2 separate regions of the Homo sapiens genome follow, and region 2 is linked to region 1. Evidence: promoter capture Hi-C in human tissues and cell types (Jung and others, 2019). All regions are on one chromosome and are shown on one strand. The core of a region is centred on a gene start or on the middle of the fragment in contact, and the rest is flanking DNA. Distances in the headings are between cores, read along the strand shown.

What was found. The method cuts DNA at HindIII sites, captures the fragments that hold promoters and counts their contacts. A contact is called where the count stands out against the background at its distance.
Region 2: a fragment that was not itself captured here is called in contact with the fragment with the promoter of HAND2 in region 1 in 1 of the 25 tissues and cell types used here (lymphoblastoid cells).

What each region holds. Positions count from the first base shown.
Region 1 is chr4:173,527,912-173,533,452 of GRCh38, reverse strand. It overlaps HAND2 (heart and neural crest derivatives expressed 2), which reads left to right and starts at 3,224. Exons shown (of 2, transcript NM_021973.3): 1 at 3,224-4,718. The coding sequence starts at 4,164. It overlaps HAND2-AS1 (HAND2 antisense RNA 1), which reads right to left and starts at 3,082. Exons shown (of 5, transcript NR_136196.1): 1 at 2,914-3,082; 2 at 2,375-2,486. The HindIII fragment of the contact is 12,639 bases long and covers 1-5,541 here.
Region 2 is chr4:174,622,275-174,627,911 of GRCh38, reverse strand. LOC105377551 (a long non-coding RNA gene) reads right to left here and starts at 5,285. Exons shown (of 4, transcript XR_939494.3): 1 at 323-5,285. The HindIII fragment of the contact is 6,340 bases long and covers 1-5,637 here.

The DNA of each region.
Region 1 (5,541 bases), core at 1,975-4,474:
GGTACACCATCAGCTACAACAAAGGTACAGAATCCCAAACACTCACCCAAACCTGGGCTGCCTCCTTGTGAAGCAGTTTCTGGACACGAGTAAGGCCGGTTTTGGCTCAGCCCTCAGCCTCTGAGGAGAGGCAGAGAAGCACTCCTAGCTAAGATTCCTCCACAGGCACCCAGAGGAGCCCCCAGCAAGCCAGTTCCCTGGGCCTTTGAGTACTTACAACATGTGCATCAGCAGCTACACTAGTGCAGCCCAGGAGTGGGGTCCCCATGCTGACATCGATGTCAGGGACTGTGCCTTTCTCCCTTTCTTCTCCCACTTTCCCTCTCATCACCAACACCACCCTCTCCTTCATTGCCACCACTGCCAACACCTCCATCACTACCACCAGGATGCCCAGGACACCTAAATTGAGGGCAAACTTGAGATGGCATCCTTGCTTCACAACTTCCCAAAGGAGCAGGCTAACCCAGTATCCTGGAAAACCTGGAACAAAACAGGCCAAAGGACACTGCAAGAGAAAAGTGGATGCGTTTGTGCATTTAGGGTAGAGCTCAACCAGTCAGGGCCAGCCTGGCCTCCCTGAGTCAGTTACTACAGTTGGGGACACCACTAGGGTTCATCCATTTGTCCCCTCTCATCAAGCCAGCTTTCTAAGGCAGTGACCTCTGGATTTGGGTTTCTGAGCCACATCAAGTCTTAGGCCCTTGGACCACAGCAGTTAACTGATAATGACACTGTGAGTGAGAACTGATGTTCAGATTAGCATCTTTTATGATTTCTTTTTTCTGTACCATGTTGTCCATTTCCTTTACCACTTGCAATGCTATCTGGAGCCACGAGGTAATTCATTCATTTTTGTTTGTTTGTTTGTTTCAATTAAAAGCATGAGAAAAGCTAAATGTGGCAAGTTCTGAAGCTTTCAAAAGTGAGGCCACTCACCGCTGGTCTCTGGTGGACAGAGCATCTCAATCCCTAACTCAGCCCTCCTCTGGACTCTTCTTCCTCCCTTCAATTCCCAAAACTCCCTTTGGGTCTTAAAGCAGCCAACCAACTAATTTCCCTGAATTTTTATATGTTCCCAGCCCCAGTGCAATCTTACTTTGTCTACCTGCTCCCAAGGCCTAAATGTGTTTTTATAAACAGACTTTTCAAAAACGTATCAAATGTCAGAGAATTGAACTACCAGTATTTACACATTCGGGGTTTGCCTCCGGGTGAAAATGTAAACAGAACCCCCAACCACACTACCTGCATTCTTTCCTTGAAGAACCAGGTCTTTAAAAGGCTCTCCTTGTGCTAAAAAATTGCAGACCCACGCAAGTTGGGGGTTTAGAGCAGTAGGTCACTATTTTGTTCCGAGCTCAACTGCAAGCCCCTGGCGCTTACCAACGAGCCTAGTTTCAGTTAATCCCTATTCTAGGTTCAATGCTTTAAGACGCTTGTCTGGGGACGTTCAAGGATGTTAACCCCTTTCCTAGAAAAAGAATGGGCCCTGCACCGACTCTAATCCTGGGCTTTTAAGTCCCTGTCTCCTACCGCCCAGCCGCGGCAAACCTGAAATATATATATTTCTCAATCCTGCTGCCCAAGACTCTAGGGCTAGTGGAGGGCAGAGCCCGAGCACAGAGTCAACTGCAACACCGAAGTTGGGCGCCCTCCATTCGCACTGACCTCGCCTTCCTGCCCCAACCACTTTGTCGGCGGTGAGCAAGGAAAGGACTGTCCTTGTGGAGTCCTTCGGGTGGGGATCGCTTTGTGGCCTGCGGCCGGACTCTGCCCGCCTCCAAAGGGCGATGCTCAAGGTGGAGTCTTTGGTCTCCCTTGGGCTAACCTGGCCTGACCAGCGGCGAGCCCCAGGCCGCCCTGTCCCGCGCTGGCGCCGCAGGCCCTCGCCTCCCTCTAATTTACAGCCCGCGGGCTCCTGTTGACACCGTTTTCCACACCGAACTCCTTCGGGTGGAATCTGCATATACACATCAGCCTCCCCTCTCGGCTTGGGGCCAAGCCTGGGGTGATTTCAGCTCCTGCCATTTACCACCCGCCCTCGCCGCACGTGAGCCTTCTCAAGAAGCTCATGCCACACGGGCGCTGCGGCCCGGGTGCCCCGCGGCCCGGTGACTTACAAGTGGAGATCCATTTTCCGTTATAATGCGTTCAAGATCACCAAGGCCAGCAGTCTCAACATCCACGAGCCGTCCTCCCGGCCTGCCTCTTAAACTGGCGTTTAATGGTTCCCCTCCGATAACTAAACCTGCTTTCCACAGATGCCCGCTTTTATGAGGGAGGCAGGAATGCAGAGATATATTTATATGTTTGTTCATAAAAACTGGAAAATAAGCTCTGAACACGCCGTAAAAAATATTCAGTTACTTACCAAACAGGCTAGTTAAACCAGGGGAACACCGATACCAGCCACACTACAGATTCGGGGAATCGAGGTGCCCGCACTTCAAAATCGCCCAAGGTCTTCGTAGGGACTGGTGTCCCTGAAGGATGTGGAAATAACAGCATTTACAATCGGCTTGACATGTTCGCCCGGAGGACTCAGCCGTCATCTCCAAAGTTTGCCGCAATAACGTGAGCCACCCCAAACAGCTCTAACCGGGGTAACTTGGTGGGTAACTCAATAGCCACTGAGACCGGCGTTTCGAGCCTGTAAACGGGTCAAAGAAACACCCTTCTCCAGCCGCTCCTCGTCCCTGCTGGGGCAAAGAGCGCCAGCTCCCAGCCGCGCCTTTGTGGGGGCCCCCACCGCCCGTCACGAGGCTCCCGGCGCCCCTGCATAAAATTGTAAGAGGCTGCCTGCGTATATTTTCTTACCTCGATTACCTACAAAGCACTTCGAAAAGCAATACCTGCGTTTTCTTTCTTTCTTTCTTTTCAACCAGAAAAGAGAGCAGAGTGATACTGTACCTGGTTAGAGATTCTTCAATATTTGAGACTTGGGGGGAAAATATTTTAATAGTGAAGCATCTGTTAAACACTTGCATTATCCTCTGACTGATAAAAAAAGTTTTTTTAACCCTGCCCCCCCCCCCCGCCAAGTTTTAATTATCTTATGGTTATGAGGAGGTAGCCAATCCTGGAAGAGGACCTCGGCAATTAGCAACGTGAACATCAAAAAGTTTTATTGCCGAGAGCTCGAGGCGCCGCCCCTGCCGCCCCGGGATTGGCGTGAGGAGCCTCTGACGACATATATTAACCCGAGCGGCCCTAAAGATGTAGCTGTACATGGAGATCTTGCTGGGAAAATCCGCTTGCTCCCCTCACGTCGTCCAGCCCAGGAGAACCACCGCCGTCACCCCGGAGCTTCCTCGGCCACCGCGCAGAGCCCTCCGAGAGCCCGAGCCGCGGTCTTCGAGCTCCAAGGCTCATTCAGGGCCCCAGATCCTTGCCCCGAAAGGAGAGGATCTGAGAAAATGGATGCACTGAGACCTCTCTGAAAACCCTCCGAGAGAGCGCGAGAGGAGCGAGGACACGTTACTCGCAGCTAAAATCACATTTAAGGACCAAAACAACAACAACCAAAAATTTCATTAAAACAATAAGCGCCCAAGAACCCAGATCGGGCTGGTGGGGGGAGGGGAAGAGGCGGGAAGGGGAGGGTCGCACGGAGGTAGCTTTGCAGTGAGCAGTCGACCCCGCCGCCCCCCGGCACAGCTGGACCGGCTCCTCCAGCCGCGGCTCAGACTCGCCCCTGGATTCCGGGTTAGCTTCGGTGCCAGGACCGCGGCCCGGGCTTGGATTCCCGAGACTCCGCGTACCAGCCTCGCGGGAGCCCCGGCACCTTTGTATGAGCACGAGAGGATTCTGCCTCCGCGCAGCAGCCCGGGAAGCAGGAGCCGAAGCGCGGGCCGTGGAGCAAGGCGGGAACCGGAGGCGGCGGCGGCGGCGGCCAGGGGCGCACGGTGCCAGGACCAGCTCGCCGCGCCCCATGGGGAGCCGGCGGCCGCAGCGCTGCTGAGGCGGGCCCGGCTGGCCAGGCGGGGGGACGGGGCCCGGGCTGCAGCAGCCCCCTCTGCGGCTGCCGGGCGGGCCCGGGCGCCCGGGGGCTGGGGGGTGGGGGGTGGGGGAGGACGCCGAGCGCTGAGGCAGGGGCCCGGGCCGAGGGCGCGGCGGGGCTGCGCGCACGCTGGGGCGCGTGGAGGGGCGCGGAGGGCGAAATGAGTCTGGTAGGTGGTTTTCCCCACCACCCGGTGGTGCACCACGAGGGCTACCCGTTTGCCGCCGCCGCCGCCGCAGCTGCCGCCGCCGCCGCCAGCCGCTGCAGCCATGAGGAGAACCCCTACTTCCATGGCTGGCTCATCGGCCACCCCGAGATGTCGCCCCCCGACTACAGCATGGCCCTGTCCTACAGCCCCGAGTATGCCAGCGGCGCCGCCGGCCTGGACCACTCCCATTACGGGGGGGTGCCGCCGGGCGCCGGGCCCCCGGGCCTGGGGGGGCCGCGCCCGGTGAAGCGCCGAGGCACCGCCAACCGCAAGGAGCGGCGCAGGACTCAGAGCATCAACAGCGCCTTCGCCGAACTGCGCGAGTGCATCCCCAACGTACCCGCCGACACCAAACTCTCCAAAATCAAGACCCTGCGCCTGGCCACCAGCTACATCGCCTACCTCATGGACCTGCTGGCCAAGGACGACCAGAATGGCGAGGCGGAGGCCTTCAAGGCAGAGATCAAGAAGACCGACGTGAAAGAGGAGAAGAGGAAGAAGGAGCTGGTCAGTACCAGGGGGCGGCAGGCGGTGGGGCTGAGGGGGTCAGGGAACTGGTGCTCCCGGCCTCTTTCCAATTGGGCTGAGAAATGGCATCTCGTGTTCTTTGGCTGCGTCCCGCTTCAAGGTTGTTTGCACCAGGTTGTGTAAGGATGGCTTCCGGCATAAGCAGAGAGTTGAGGGGAGGGTGTCAGCAGGAGGAGGAGAAGGTTAGGGATGCTTTGCGCTGGTGATCTTACCTCCGGGTTATCGCTGCTCCCCTAGTACTTAGGACGGACCTTGAAAACTCTGGGTCGCGATCGATCGCGATCGCACTGGTCTGGATGCCTCACCCCGTCTCTGTTAGACCCTTCTTTTGGCCTCCAATCCAATCTTGCTTTCAGATGTTTCCAGAATAAGTCTCGAAGAAGCCCTTGATTCCAATTATTTCACTATTGATCGCACCCCCTACCCCACTCCCAGAAGGAGGCTGCCAGAGACTGAGCCCTGAGTTTTGTGGTTGTTCTCATACTATGCCCGGAAAACGTAATGGTAAACATAAAATAAGTACTTTTGACTTCAAAATACAGCTCCAATTTTTCCTTGGCTATGACGTTAAAATGTAATTTCCCAGATGAGTATATTCCATTGGCATTTCTAATTTTATTTGAATAAGCCTGTACATTTTAAGGGGGAAAAGGCATTACTATGGTCATTGTTATTAAAAATAACACGAAAGTAAATTGAGCCGCTTAAAATTTTCTCAGATTCCTACCAAGTGCCCACAGGGCAGTGGTGCAGGATAGAGCTATGTCCACGAAGGGCCCGGAAAATAATTGCATTTGTCGAA
Region 2 (5,637 bases), core at 1,241-3,740, 1.1 Mb before region 1:
AGAAAATGAAAAAAAAAAAAGTGTATCCAAACCAATAGAGATTTACACATAGCAAAGGTGAGAATGACATTGAAAACTTTCTCAGTGATATTATATAACAACGTAAGTCATCTTGCAGAAGAATTACTGTAGTATCTGGAGGCTAACTGTATTATGTCAATTCACCCCTATGATTCAGAACTTATGGCATATAAAAGATATGTTAATATTGCACATATCCCTTTGGAAATCACTGCGATTCATGATGATGTCACTGTATACAATAATATGTGCTTCTACAGTGATTGATGGTTCTAGAAAGATTTCAAAGAACAGTTAGTACCTGTTGATGTAACTGGTGACAAGGTAACCAATAATATTGTCACCTCATCATCCTATAGTATTTGTAGTCCTCTAGCTGTAGATAGTTGTGATGATGTGTATTCAAGACTGAATAGGACACCTATCCTCAAGAAAAATGAAATTAGGAGACAAAAGATGAGTATTGGATTATAAAATCATATCCATATAAATGTAATTACTGAGAACACAAAGGGAATTCTACCAAAATTGTTTTAAAAGGTAGCATAGAAAAGTGATTAAGAGACTGTTGGAGCCAAACTACCTAAATTAAAAAGCTGTTTGCACCATCTGCTAGTAATAGGTGGTACTACTAGCAGCATCTACTTTAGGCAATTTTTAAACCTCTTTTTGCCTTTATTTCCCCTTATTAAAATGTGGATACTTTTAAAAATTGTCATGAAACTTCAATGAATCAATATTTGTAAAAGACACACATATAAGACTGCCTGTTAAAATGAAATAAACAAATCACATTTTTATTTGTTAAACTCAGACTACAAGGAACAAATGCTCACTTGGATTAATTCAGGTAATACAAGTTAATTATTAAGATACAGAAAAAATGATGAAAATAATCTTGGCCATTGGGATATAAACTCCAGGAAGGTGAGTGCACTACTGTTCATTAATGTATCCTGATTTGGAATATGCACTTGGCCTGTAGGCACTTGATAAGTATTTGTGTAAATAATAGTGATTGAAGCATGGGAAAGCCAGTATTTCTAGATACTGGAAAGTCATTTAAAATATACACCAAAACACTAGCAATAATTAACTACCTGATTAGACCCTGAGAGCAAGCATACACTACTTCCTACTCTACAACTACTGAGAGGAGTAGGAGAAAGTCTTCACCTGACTTGTAGTTTCTCTACAATCACTTTCAGCTTCTTCTCTCACCACCAAATGCTAACCTCCTCAGTAGATCCCCTAGTCAGACCCTCCAAAAACAAGAATTTAATTGCTTTGGCCACATTCCAATATAGCCTCCCTCTATTGGGCAGAGTTTTGCATCTGGGCTACCTCTCAATCTTTTAGCCACTTTATAAGTTGACTTAGTTTGGTTTACATAACCACTCCTGGTTTCATTAGCTGTGGCCAAGATAAGAGAAATCTCATACAGAAATAGTATAAAGATAGCATGCAATCTGTGTGTAAGAAAACTTTAAGAAGACTGTAAGAATGGCATTCGTTTGGAAGCTACCTAGAAAGGAACTGTATAAAATAGGAAAAAGTTTACTTCTCCTATCTAAGACAAATTGATTGAAAAATGGTTTCATTTGGGAAAGGGGGAAAACCCTAAAGTACACTAAATAATAAACAACATAATTATTAATAGTAAGATGCAACCACTTGCATGTAAAGGAATAGTTTATAAATAGTTCAACCACGAGGGTAGCTGTAAGAGGGATAAAATGTCCATTTAGGAGGACTTTATTTATCAGTTGTGTCACCAAAATAAAATGGAATTGGTTTAAAACTTATGGAACTAGCAGCAAATGTCAGGGGTTGCCCGTTCTCTGTGCTAATCTATTCTTGTAATTATGAGTATTCTTCAATAGACCCAGTTGCAGAGTGTAAAGTTGGTATTCCCGAAGACAGGAAACACAAACTAAGTTCCGCCATGGCATACATTGGCCTATTAAAACTCTTTACATGTTGAGAAAATTTTGGCAATCTATCCATCTGACAGTGGGCTAATATCCAGAATCTACGAGGAACTTAAACAAATTTCCAAGAAATAAACAACCCCTTCAAAAAGTGGGCAATGGATATGAACAGACATTTCTCAAAGGAAGACATTTATGCAGCCAACAAACATATGAAAAAAAGCTCATCATTGGTCATTAGAGAAATGCAAATCAAAACCACAATGAGATACCATTTCATGCCAGTTAGAATGGTGATCATTAAAAAGTTAGGAAACAACAGATGCTGGAGAGGATGTGGAGAAATAGGAATGCTTTTACACTGTTGGTGGGAGTGTAAATTAGTTCAACCATTGTGGAAGAAAGTGGGGCAATTCCTCAAGGATCTAGAACCAGAAATACCATTTGACATAGCCATCCCATCACTGGTTATATACCCAAAGGATTATAAATCATTCTACTATAAAGACACATGCACACATATGTTTATTGCAGCACTGTTCACAATAGCAAAGACTTGGAACCAACCTAAATGCCCGTCGATGATAGACTGGATAAAGAAAATGTGGCACATATACACCATGGAATACTATGCAGCCATAGAAAGGATGAGTTAATGTCCATTACAGGGACATGGATGAAGCTGGAAACCATCATTCTCAGCAAACTAACACAGGAACAGAAAACCAAACACGGCATGTTCTCACTCATAGGTGGGAGTTTAACAATGAGAACACATGGACACAGGGAGGGGAACATCACACACCGGGGCCTGTCAGGGGGTAGGGGGCCGGGGGAGGGATAGCATTAGGAGAAATACCTAATGTAGATGACAGGTTGATGGGTGCAGCAAACCATCATGGCACTTGTATACCTATGTAACAAACCTGCACGTTCTGCACGTGTATCCCAGAACTTAAAGTATAATAATAGTAAAAAAACTCTTCCTATGTTTACTTAAGTATAGCGCTTCTATTTTATTTTGCTCATTCACATAAATAAATTATTTGCCATACATCACATCTTCAATAACATTTATTGAAACAGATTATCTTAACTCAAAACTGTCACCAGCATTATTCCTAGAGTACTATTTCAATTATAGCCTGATTAAAGGGTTTCCAATTCAAACAACTTTAATACTATGATTGTCACAAAAAAATACATTATTAATAAATTGCAAAAAAGAGACACATATTGAATCAATCAATGCTTAATAGTCAAGAAATGAAAACATAGCTCTAAGTAACTTTTATAACACTTTTATTGAGGTATAATGCAGATGCCACATTTTTTTAATGTACAATTCATTGGGTCTTTGTATATTCACAGAGTTACATAAACATCACGACTATCTAAGTCCAAAATATGTCATCACCCTAAAAAGAAACCTCATATGCATTTCCAGTCATTCCCCATTCCCTCCCATCCTTCCCTTACCCATTGGTAACCACTGATCTATCTATTTCTGAACATTTCATTTGAATGAACTCATGTAATACATGGCCTTTTGTGTATGGCTTGTTTCACTTAGCATAATGTTTTTAAAGTTCATCCTTGTTGCAGCATGTATCACTATTTTATTTCTTTTTTATGGTAGGATAATACTCTATTGCATGAACATAACAGCTCTTGTTCATTCTTGTCACAGCATTTAGAAATACAATGATTAGAAGCATTGTTGGGACCACATGGTGCAGAGCACTCTTCTGGGCAAGAATAAATAGGTAAAAACGCCATCTACAAGCAATCATGGTTCAACTGTTTGGGCTAAAATGGTCAATCAATTCTGTTAACAAGACTCTAAAAATGACGACTCAAAACTTGATGTAACTCGACAGTCATCTCAGAAAATAAATTTTTAAAAAATTGAATATAGATATAAAGTGTTCAAAAGAAACAATCCTCAATGATATTTGAGTCTCAGTTTCTTTTTTTTTTTTTCTTTTGGAGACAGGGTCTCACTTTGTTGCCCAGGCTGGAGCACAGTGGCCATTCCCAGGCTCACAGGCACGGTCACAGTGCACTGCAGCCTCAAACTCCTGGGCTGAAGTGATTCTTCCACCTCAGCTTTCAGAGTAGCTGAGATCATAGGCACATGCAACTGCAGCCAGCTCTCCTCATATTTTTGAGAATTATATTCTCTCCTGTTTTTCCTATTATACAGGGCCATTTAGCTGATAAGAGGACAATCTGAGATACTGTGTATCTCATGTGTTTTTCCTTCTGTAATATGAAAATAACCCAGTCATTATACTCCTCAGATGCTTTTTGATTGAGTCATAACTGTATGATTGGTCAAAATATTATAGCATATTCAACTATTTTAAAATATATGTATTGGATCCAGGGAATGTACTAGACATTGTCCATGATGTAAATATATCCATTGTTACTTGGTATGGACATTTTAAGGCAGTAGCATATAATTGTCTTGTATTAAAATTATTATGTAATTTACTAAGCAAGTACTCTATAAACATAACATAGTTAAAATTCTATCAACCTATATGCTTGGAGAATGGGTATTTTTACTTGATTTTTAAAAATTCAGTATTATATAAGAACCTATTTTTGTAAAAAAATAAAATGGTGTCTGTTAAAATGAAATAAAACCAGATTGCATTTTTATTAGTTAGATTTGGACTGTAAGAAACAAAGCCACACTTGGATTAATTTGGGTGATAAAGGTTTATTATAAAGATACAGAGAAAATTATTAAAATAATCTCAGCCATTGGAATATAAATTCCTACTATTGGACATTTTTAAGAACTTGGTAAAATTGTATGTTTTGAAAAATGAGAATTTAAATGACAAAAGACAATATAAGCACAATTTTTATTGTGTGATTATGGATATACAGGAGTATACAAGTAGTAAATATAAATGCTTAATTTACTTTTCCTATCAAATATTAAATCCAAGAAAGCAAATCTAATAAAAATCCTATTAATTAAGCTTCCTTATTACTTAGTTACAGGTTAATTTTCAGTTTTATGTATTTATGGAGTTTACAATCTAAGTTTTTTAAACTTTAATTTGTTCCTAATCTCCTTGACCTTTCTTGCTATGTAACCCATGATATGGTTAATACCAAGAATTCTGTGAGTGATATGTTTCATGTATCTGCTTAGAAATAATGTCCAGAATCAGAAGGGACAGAACAAGGAAATGATGGAAAATACTAAGTGCATAGGACATTGAATGAGAAAATAAAAGCTTACATGAAAACAACATGCTACAGTCAACTAAAGACGACATGCTTGGCACAAAGGGACTAAACTTTCAGAAAAAAAAATAATGAATGGCATAAATTAATTTAAAGCTTTCAACAAAATTGTTGCTCTCAGATGGATGTTTCATGAAAAGAAACATTAAGTCTCATTGTGTTGTCATTAAGACATGGCCAATGGGGTGTAAGGCTGTAAGCCTTCAGAAGCTCATTACTTTAAGCATTCCGACACATGATTATAAAATTAAGTGTGATCCTGGTTGAAATTTGAATTAGGAACATTTCATACCAATCTGAATAAGTCTCATGTAAACAATAGCTGGTGTATACCTCAAAAAAACTTACAAAATATTCTTGTTTCCAATACTTAAAATTAAATGTGCATGTTTGGTATTATAACATCTTATGCTAC